Regions from separate parts of the Homo sapiens genome. Here regions 1 and 3 are each linked to region 2. Evidence: promoter capture Hi-C in human tissues and cell types (Jung and others, 2019). All regions are on one chromosome and are shown on one strand. The core of a region is centred on a gene start or on the middle of the fragment in contact, and the rest is flanking DNA. Distances in the headings are between cores, read along the strand shown. Region 1 holds the start of NBR1 (NBR1 autophagy cargo receptor). Region 2 holds the start of KCNH4 (potassium voltage-gated channel subfamily H member 4). Region 3 holds the start of RAMP2 (receptor activity modifying protein 2).

Region 1 (2,700 bases), core at 40-2,539, 990 kb before region 2:
CGCCAAAAGTGGGTATTCTGAAATATCACTTTCCAACTTCAAGAAACACACTTCCCTACTTGTGAAGGAAATGAATCTTCCTCTCTTTTTCTCAAATTACACAATTGGAAATTTAGATACTCTGGAGCTCCTCCAGCTGGTGGGCCAACTAAGAGAAAACAGGAAGTGGGAGATTCTAGCTTGGCTGGACCATATCCAGGTCTTCATAAGGAACTCTCTTTGGCTGACATGTAAAAAAATTCTTTCAGCAGGAGCATTAATCTTAAACGTGTGTAAACACCAAAGCTATGGTTAACCCTATCTGCCCCTTAGGTCTACAGCCAGTAGAGTCAGATAGCTGGGTCTTAGGCCTTCAGCTTTCATAACTGGCATTATTGTAAGTCCATGCCACTGACTCACCTTTGCTTGGCACAAGTTAGCTTTTCCTCCACGTCGATTTTTTTTTCAGCCTCAACAAAATCCCTTTAATGAAACAGACCTGGCAACCTGAGCTTTGATTACTGTCTCCACCAGAGGCCTTTACAAGCCAAGTTATCCAGGCTTTAAAATGTGTGACCTGAGGCCGGGAGCGGTGGCTTATACCTGTAATCCCAGCACTTTGGGAGGCCAAGGCACGAGGATCGCTTGAGCTCAGCAGTTCAAGCCCAGCCTGGGTTGGTCTTTGAGAAAGCAAGACTCTGTCTCAAAAAAGTGTGGCCTGAAAGCTGAGTGTTTGACAAAAAGGAAAAACAGTGCCTTTCCAAAACCGAAGGTCCCTAACCAAGGAGATCTCTTTAAGGTCTCGAAAAAACGAGGATGGGATGAGAAGGATGTGTAAGTAGTGTCATTTTTTTACTTGCAGAGTTCATCCTAGTCTTCCAGTTTTCGTTTCCTAGCACTCCATGTTCCCAAGACAGTGTCACTACCCCGAGGGCTCTCTCATTTTCTTTGCCTAGGCCCTCATTCCACTGGGGAGTCGTGGCCTTCCATCAGTAGAAGCCGGATGTTCTGACCCACAGACTCTCCAACTCTCCGGCGCTTCTCGCCAACTCGGTCCCTCTGAACATGAAGGGCTCTCTCATCCTGTCACTAAAAAGATTAGCTGTCCCGAAACACGGAAAAAGTCGCCCCTCTTCTTTGCAGGATTCCTCCCTTGAACTTCCCCAAACCCTCTTAGCGTGACGTGACCCCACCCCTAGGTAACCGCAGCTGCTTCCTTACCAGCTTCCCGCCCCCGGGGGGCGCCTGCCGGAGGCCAATGCAAGGACCGTCCGCTACCGGCTCTGCCGCTATCCCTGTGGGGTGAATCTAACATGGCGGATAAAGACAGTAACTAGTCCCCTGTTTCTCCGAGTGTTCGCCAAGATGATTGGCTCTCACCACTTGTCCCTCAAAACGACCACGCCATTGATTGGTGGAGATTGCGTCGATGGGGCGGGGCAGAAGCAACCTGAACCCGAACAACAATAACAAACATTGAGGCTGAGGGGCGGAACTAGGAGTGCGCAGATGTGGGCCAGAGCGGATTTCCCCTTCCCCAGGCAAATTCGGCGCCCACTGCGTCCCCGCAGGCCACTGACCTTAGAGGACTACTTGCCCGAGACTCGTGGGGCTGGATGGGAATCGTAGTCTTCCTAGGAGTTGTAGGTATCTTTTTTTGGCCTAGTCTCTGCTCTCAAGATAGGAGAACATAACAACACTCCAATCCATTACTGTTGACATGTATAAGCCCGCGGAGGTCTCCAATCTATCCACTGGATTTCCGTGAGAATTGTGCCCGCTTTGGTATTGGATGTTCCTCTCCATAAGACTACAGTTTCCAAGGAACAGTGTGGCCAAGGCCTTTCGTTCCGCAATGCATGTTGGAAATAGTAGTTCTTTCCCTCCACCTCCCAACAATCCTTTTATTTACCTAAACTGGAGACCTCCATTAGGGCGGAAAGAGTGGGGTAATGGGACCTCTTCTTAAGACTGCTTTGGACACTATCTTACGCTGATATTCAGGCCTCAGGTGGCGATTCTGACCTTGGTACAGCAATTACTGTGACGTAATAAGCCGCAACTGGAAGCGTAGAGGCGAGAGGGCGGGCGCTTTACGGCGAACTCAGGTAGAATTCTTCCTTTTCCGTCTCTTTCTTTTTATGTCACCAGGGGAGGACTGGGTGGCCAACCCAGAGCCCCGAGAGATGCTAGGCTCTTTCTGTCCCGCCCTTCCTCTGACTGTGTCTTGATTTCCTATTCTGAGAGGCTATTGCTCAGCGGTTTCCGTGGCAACAGTAAAGCGTGGGAATTACAGATAAATTAAAACTGTGGAACCCCTTTCCTCGGCTGCCGCCAAGGTGTTCGGTCCTTCCGAGGAAGCTAAGGCCGCGTTGGGGTGAGACCCTCACTTCATCCGGTGAGTAGCACCGCGTCCGGCAGCCCCAGCCCCACACTCGCCCGCGCTATGGCCTCCGTCTCCCAGCTTGCCTGCATCTACTCTGCCCTCATTCTGCAGGACTATGAGGTGACCTTTACGGAGGATAAGATCAATGCCCTTATTAAAGCAGCCAGTGTAAATATTGAAACTTTTTGGCCTGGCTTGTTTGCAAAGGTCCTGGCCAACGTCAACATTGGGAGCCACATCTGCAGTGTAGAGGGGGGGAAAAAAACGTGACTGCGCGTCGTGAGCTCGCTGAGACGTTCTGGACGGGGGACAGGCCGTGGGGTTTCTCAGATAAC
Region 2 (2,700 bases), core at 176-2,675:
GAGTTCAAGACCAGCCTGGCAAACATGGCGAAACCCCATCTCTACTAAAAATACAAAAATTAGCCGGGCATTGTAATGCACGCCTGTGATCCCAGCTACTAAGGAGGCTGAGGCGGGAGAATTGCTTGAACCCAGGAGGCAGAGGTTGCAGTGAGCTGAGGTCATGCCACTGCACTCCAGCCTGGGCAACAGAGCAAGACTCCGTCTCAAAAACAACAAGAACAAGAACAACAAGAACAACAACAACAACAAAAGTAGAGACACAGAAAAATGTGGCACTTCTTAGCAATCTAACATCCCAGATAATACCTAGCTCAGAGGGTGGGGAGAATTTAGCCTGCCCTCCTTGCCCATAGGGTTCCCACTTTCACTGCTTCAGCTGTTTTGTCGTGGGAAGCAGCCACCCTCAGCCACAGAACTCAGCTGCCTCAATTTTCTGCATAGGTAGTGAGAAAGTCCTGTGTCTAGTCTCACTTTGGTCCCTCTTGCTGCTGTACTGGTTCCATCTTGGAGAAGTTAGAGGTCAAAGTTCACATGTGCATCCTTGGAGATTTGCAAGCCATGACTCTGCCCACCTCGAAACTATCTTTTTCAGAGGTAGTTTCTCCCAAACTTGCCTCCAGCCTCTCTTCCACTTGAAGGGCAGCAGAGAGGAGGATTAAGACAGTAGGAAGAGGGAAAACAGGCAGGCAACTGCCCTTCAAGACACTTATTTTGTACCAAAGACATGCATTATGGTATTACATTCTCACGGTAACTGCATCAGGTAAGAATTATCAGCTCCATTTTACAGATGAGGAAAGTGGGCTTGGAGAGGATATCACACGATTGGTGTCTAGAGCTGGGACTCTACCTGGTGGACTCCAAAGCTCTTTTCATTCCACCATGCTGTGTCTCAGTAGGCAGAGTTCGCCAGGGTGTCTTGGGAAAACTGAGGCAGGAGGTAAGAATGGTGCTTTCTAGAGTTGGGGTTTCAAGCCTTCCCATTGTCCATTCTCTACCAGCAAACTAGCCTCTTAACCCTTGCTGTCTCACGCTGGAGCTACTGGCCTGTGGGTGCTGCGAAATATGTCAACTCCAGTAGGCGGCACTGTGAACCAGACACCAGCCCAGCGTGGACGCCGCGCGGGAAAACCCGCGAGGTGGAGCCACAAGGAGCAGCCAGGGAACCACGTGTGGAGGCGTGGCCAGCCTGGAAGAGGGCGGGTCTGTTATTCAAGCCCCGCCCATCATTTCAGGCCTCCCCTCCCGGTGGGCGTGCCCCGAATTCTCTCCCCGAGAGACACGCGTGGGCCGCTCCCCTCTGGGAGGAGGGCTGCCCAGAGGGGTGCGGGTGTCGCTAGCGGCCCCTCCCCGTGTGGGGCCACGTGGCGGGTGCGGGCCGAGCCCGAGGGGAAGAACCTGGCCCGTGGGGAGGTGGGGGGGACCGAAACGGCGCTGAGCCGAGCCGAGAGCTACGGGGTTCGGAGCAGAGGCAGCGGCAGCGGCAGCGGCAGTAAGAGGGAGGGGAGGAGGCAGGAGGGCGCATGGGGCGCCCCGGCCCCTCCGACAGCGCGCCCCCTCCGGCCCGGCCGCGCTGAAAGCTCCCCAGCGCCGCGCCTTGAACCCACGCCCCGGGGCCATGCCGGTCATGAAGGGGTTGCTGGCCCCGCAAAACACCTTCCTGGACACCATCGCCACCCGTTTTGACGGAACGCGTGAGTGGGACGGAGGTCGGGGCTTGAGGTTCGAGCTGGGGGGCAAGTATCCTCGGGGCCGTCTCGGATCTCCTGGACATGGTGAGACCCGAGGCGAGGGGAGAGAATGGAGGTGCGGGTCTAGGAACTCCCAAAGCCGCGGTGCAGGAACAGGGCGGGGAGTGCCCTGCGAGGGGAGGAGGGGAAAGGGCCGAGAGCACGGGGGCCAAGGTTAGGGGGTGTGACTCGAGGCAGAAGAGGCTCTTTGTGCGGCAGAGCGGAGGAGGGTCCTTCGGAGCCGCCCACTCTCGGGCAGAGCTGTGCTGGGGGCGTGTATGGGGGTATCCGAGACACAGAAGTGGGGCAAAGTGGCCGGGCATTCTGGGGTCTACTCACAGACTCCAGCTCCCACTACCTCCAGAAAAAAAGGAGAAAAGATCAGACTTCAGCAGGACCTAGTTTGGATTGAGGTCGCGCGCCCCCAAATCGTGGGGCGTCAGTGTCTAAGGTGGGTGAGGCAGGAGGAGGGGAGCGGTCTGTGCGACGGTGGGAACTCCCAGCTCGCCCAACGTAGCTTGGGTTTCAGGTTCAGCACCTTGGACAGCCACATCACTCCTCCCCCGCCTCTTCTCCCGCCATTCCCTCTTCCCACTCTGGAACCCAGAGATTCCCCGCCCTCACCTCCCCCAACCCCGCCATTCCCTCGGGAACCCTGGCCGGGATCTGGATGGTGGGGGAGCGGTACCCGAGGGCGGAAACTGAGCCGCCGGGCCCTACCCTCTTCCCCACCACCTTGTTTCCATAGCGCCCATCACCGGGGCAACAGGCCCTGGGATGGAAGAAGGAGGCTGTGCCCAGAGCCCAGTGCCTCCCAGGCACCTTCAGTGTCCCCATCAGCCTCCCTGCCCCCAGACAGTCATCCCTCCTAGAGCACCAGGACTGGTTGTGTCACAGGCCCCATCTCTTAGCTGAGTCTCTGTCCCTGGATGGCCCACAGGAGTCCCCCTGGCCTCCCACCCATTGG
Region 3 (2,700 bases), core at 186-2,685, 580 kb before region 2:
TGGGGAAGCCCAGGTCAAACAACTCTGCAAAGTGCTCCAGGCAATCTCGCAGGGTGCTATAAGGCCTAGGGGCAGAAGAGGACTTGAGTGAGAGAGGGGGTGGACCCAGGGAGAAGAGTGCCCCACTCTCACTCAGGGTCTACCTGCAATGAGCAGGTCCACCCCCTGGCCTGAGCCACCCTCCATCACTGCCCCTACCTGCTAATCATGGCCCAGTCGCACCAATCCTTTTCGATAGGATCCATTTGATCCTTATAATGATTCCAGCAAAATTGGACAGCTGTCTCATAGTTCTTCACCGTCCCCCCTGTAGGTACAGATGCTACACAATGACCACACCCCTACCCCTCCCTACAAACCCTCCTGCCCAGGTGCTTGCAAGGTGAACTGCCTGTCTTCAAACGTGGGAACCCTTCAGAAAGTTTCCCTAGCAAAACATTCTGGCTGAGGACAGAGTCCCAGCTCAGGAATCCTATAATGACTTCCATGTGCTAAGCACTTTCCATCCCAGCCTGATAAGAACTTCCACGTACACCTTTTCCTGGGGTCTTCTCGCCCACTTGTGAGGTGGGCAGCTCAGAGCCGTGCAGGGGCTTTGTAGGAGGACAGGGAGAAAGACCACGAGGAACCCCAAGAAAGAACAGAGGGGAGTGTAGTGGGGCATCAGCTGGGGTTGGGCAGGCCTCGTGGGAAAGGAACCCTCCCCACTGAACTTGCTCTCGTCCTTACCCTCGGCCACCCTTCCACACCCTGGGTACCCACCTTCTGACCCTGGTGTGCCTGTGGTGGGAAGAGGCTGAGCCAGGGCCTCGTGGGGATTCAGGACAGCTGTGGGAAGAAACGGGAGAGGAGGGTAACATAGCGGGGACCCCGGCAGTGGAGCCTGCGAGGGGGGTTGGGGGACTGAGACCCTCCGAAAATAGGCTACCTTGGAAGAAAAGGAGGAATAATCTAGCCCCCACGGACGCCTCAGTGCCGGGGAGGGAGGGGCTGGCACCAGCTCCTTGTCACTCACACCCAGGCCCAAAGCCCCCTCATCTCTGGCCAGCTTCCGTCCTCCTAAGCCCTCTTCGAGGGGCCGGGGCCAGCACCCCAGCTTTCCCTGGGTGGGAAGCAGCTCATGCTGCGCCCGCCCCGAGGTGGGGTCAGGGACCGTCCGAGGGCCAGTGCTGCTAGGTACGTCGGTCCTAACCCGCACCCCAGGGCCCGTTCCGGCCTCGGCCATCCAGCCCCTCTCCCCTCTCCCCTCTCCCCTCCGGGGCCTCTCGCGCCTCCCGCCCGGGCCTCGGGGCGCCGCGCTCACCGCCCAGCAGGAGGAGGAGGCGGAGCGCTGCCGGCCGCCCGACTCGGGTCCTAGGGAGACGCGGGCCGCCGGCGCGCTCCACCCGGAGCGAGGCCATCGTGCAGCAAGGAGGCGAGGAGCGGCGGCGGCGCTGAGCCGGGCCCGGGTGTGGGGGCGCCTATATCCCCAGCCCAAGCTGCAGGAAGCCGCGCCGCTTCCTCGGAGGGGCTGGGACGGCGGCGGCCACGTGGGGGGCGGGGGCGACGCTCGGGGCCCGCGGCTGGAGGGGGAGTCGCTGCCTCACCCGCGCCTGGCGCCCGCGGCTCCCTCCGCCTCGCCGGCGTTGGCCCACCCTCTCGTAGCTCACCCCGCGAGGCTGGACAGCTCCCGGAACCCCGGAACCGGGATCTATTTCGGGGGCTCGGCTGCGTGGCGCCCAGGACTCTCCAGGGTCTCCCAGGATCGCTCCCCGAATTCGAGTCGCCCCCTCTCTCTTTCGGGTCTGGAGGGGTCGGCAAGCTGCTCTCCCAGACGTGGAGAAGAGGGAGGGGGCTGGGAGCTCCAGCGGCCTCTCGACGCCGCTGCTTCTAAGGGGCTGTCCTGGGTTGTGGGGGAAGGGGCGCCTGGAGCTGAGCCATGCAGCTCAGGGTTCCTTATCCTATCCCTAGGAATACCAGCTGATGTCAGTCCGCCAGCCAAAACCAGGGAGGAGAAGCGGGAGCCAGCCCTCTGGAGTCGGGAGAAGGTCTGGGGAGTGGGGTAGAGGGGAAAGCAAAGTCCAAATACCTTCCCTTCAGACACCTCCTGGGGCCTAGACCCCACAAACCTGTTGTGGGGAGGGCAAAATACGATGACTACGTTCCCAGGAAGAAGGTGCCACAGCTCTTCAGGACCACGGTTGGGAGAAAGAATGGAGGGGTTTTAGAACCTTCAGTGTGCGACTTCATGTGCCAGGTGAGTGTAACACCATTTTACAGACCGAGAAGCTAAAGCTCAGGGCCAACAGCCCGGGATTTGAATTCAGAAGCTCTGGGTTCTAATTCTGTCTTCTTACTCCCCAGCTATAGAGCCTTGAATGACACGTTTACCTTCAGGACTTCTCATGTGAAATAGGGACATTCCCCTCCTCACTGTATGATGGCAGCTGTGAAAGGGCACTGCACTCGCTAAATGCTAGTTTCCTTTCCTCTTTTCCTAAGTGACTTATCTAAGGTCACACTGTTAAGGAAGCAGCAAGGCTGAGTCTGGGCCTCCGGGGGTCCTGACTTCAGCCACACCACAGCTGCTTCTTGTGTCCTGGGCCAGAGGTTCATTAGTCTGAAGCAGCTGAGGAGCCCAGGAGCTGGTTTGGCCATGACGTTCAAGTCCCAGACACAGCTGTCAGCACCAAACTTTCCTAAATTACTCCCAGACACTGA

The links. Contacts are between HindIII fragments. The study calls those that stand out against the background at their distance.
Region 1: the fragment with the promoter of NBR1 here is called in contact with the fragment with the promoter of KCNH4 in region 2 in 1 of the 25 tissues and cell types used here (aorta).
Region 3: the fragment with the promoter of RAMP2 here is called in contact with the fragment with the promoter of KCNH4 in region 2 in 1 of the 25 tissues and cell types used here (adrenal gland).

Annotation. Positions count from the first base shown.
Region 1 is chr17:43,169,803-43,172,502 of GRCh38, reverse strand. It overlaps NBR1 (NBR1 autophagy cargo receptor), which reads right to left and starts at 1,289. Exons shown (of 21, transcript NM_005899.5): 1 at 1,201-1,289. It overlaps LOC101929767 (a long non-coding RNA gene), which reads left to right and starts at 2,100. Exons shown (of 2, transcript NR_110868.1): 1 at 2,100-2,377. It overlaps LOC124900391 (a long non-coding RNA gene), which reads left to right and starts at 1,539. Exons shown (of 2, transcript XR_007065760.1): 1 at 1,539-2,087. It also overlaps a transcript of BRCA1 not described here and the pseudogene BRCA1P1. RefSeq lists enhancers at 1,149-1,258, 1,579-1,688, 1,939-1,988, 2,259-2,468. The HindIII fragment of the contact is 14,047 bases long and covers 1-2,700 here.
Region 2 is chr17:42,179,867-42,182,566 of GRCh38, reverse strand. KCNH4 (potassium voltage-gated channel subfamily H member 4) reads left to right here and starts at 1,425. Exons shown (of 17, transcript NM_012285.3): 1 at 1,425-1,697. The coding sequence starts at 1,622. RefSeq lists silencers at 994-1,269, 1,276-1,515 and an enhancer at 2,465-2,700. The HindIII fragment of the contact is 13,187 bases long and covers 1-2,700 here.
Region 3 is chr17:42,759,962-42,762,661 of GRCh38, reverse strand. It overlaps RAMP2 (receptor activity modifying protein 2), which reads right to left and starts at 1,435. Exons shown (of 4, transcript NM_005854.3): 1 at 1,304-1,435; 2 at 763-828; 3 at 199-307; 4 at 1-65. The coding sequence starts at 1,400. RAMP2-AS1 (RAMP2 antisense RNA 1) reads left to right here and starts at 1,405. Exons shown (of 6, transcript NR_024462.1): 1 at 1,405-1,782; 2 at 1,951-2,027; 3 at 2,149-2,236. RefSeq lists a silencer at 1,232-1,321. The HindIII fragment of the contact is 24,962 bases long and covers 1-2,700 here.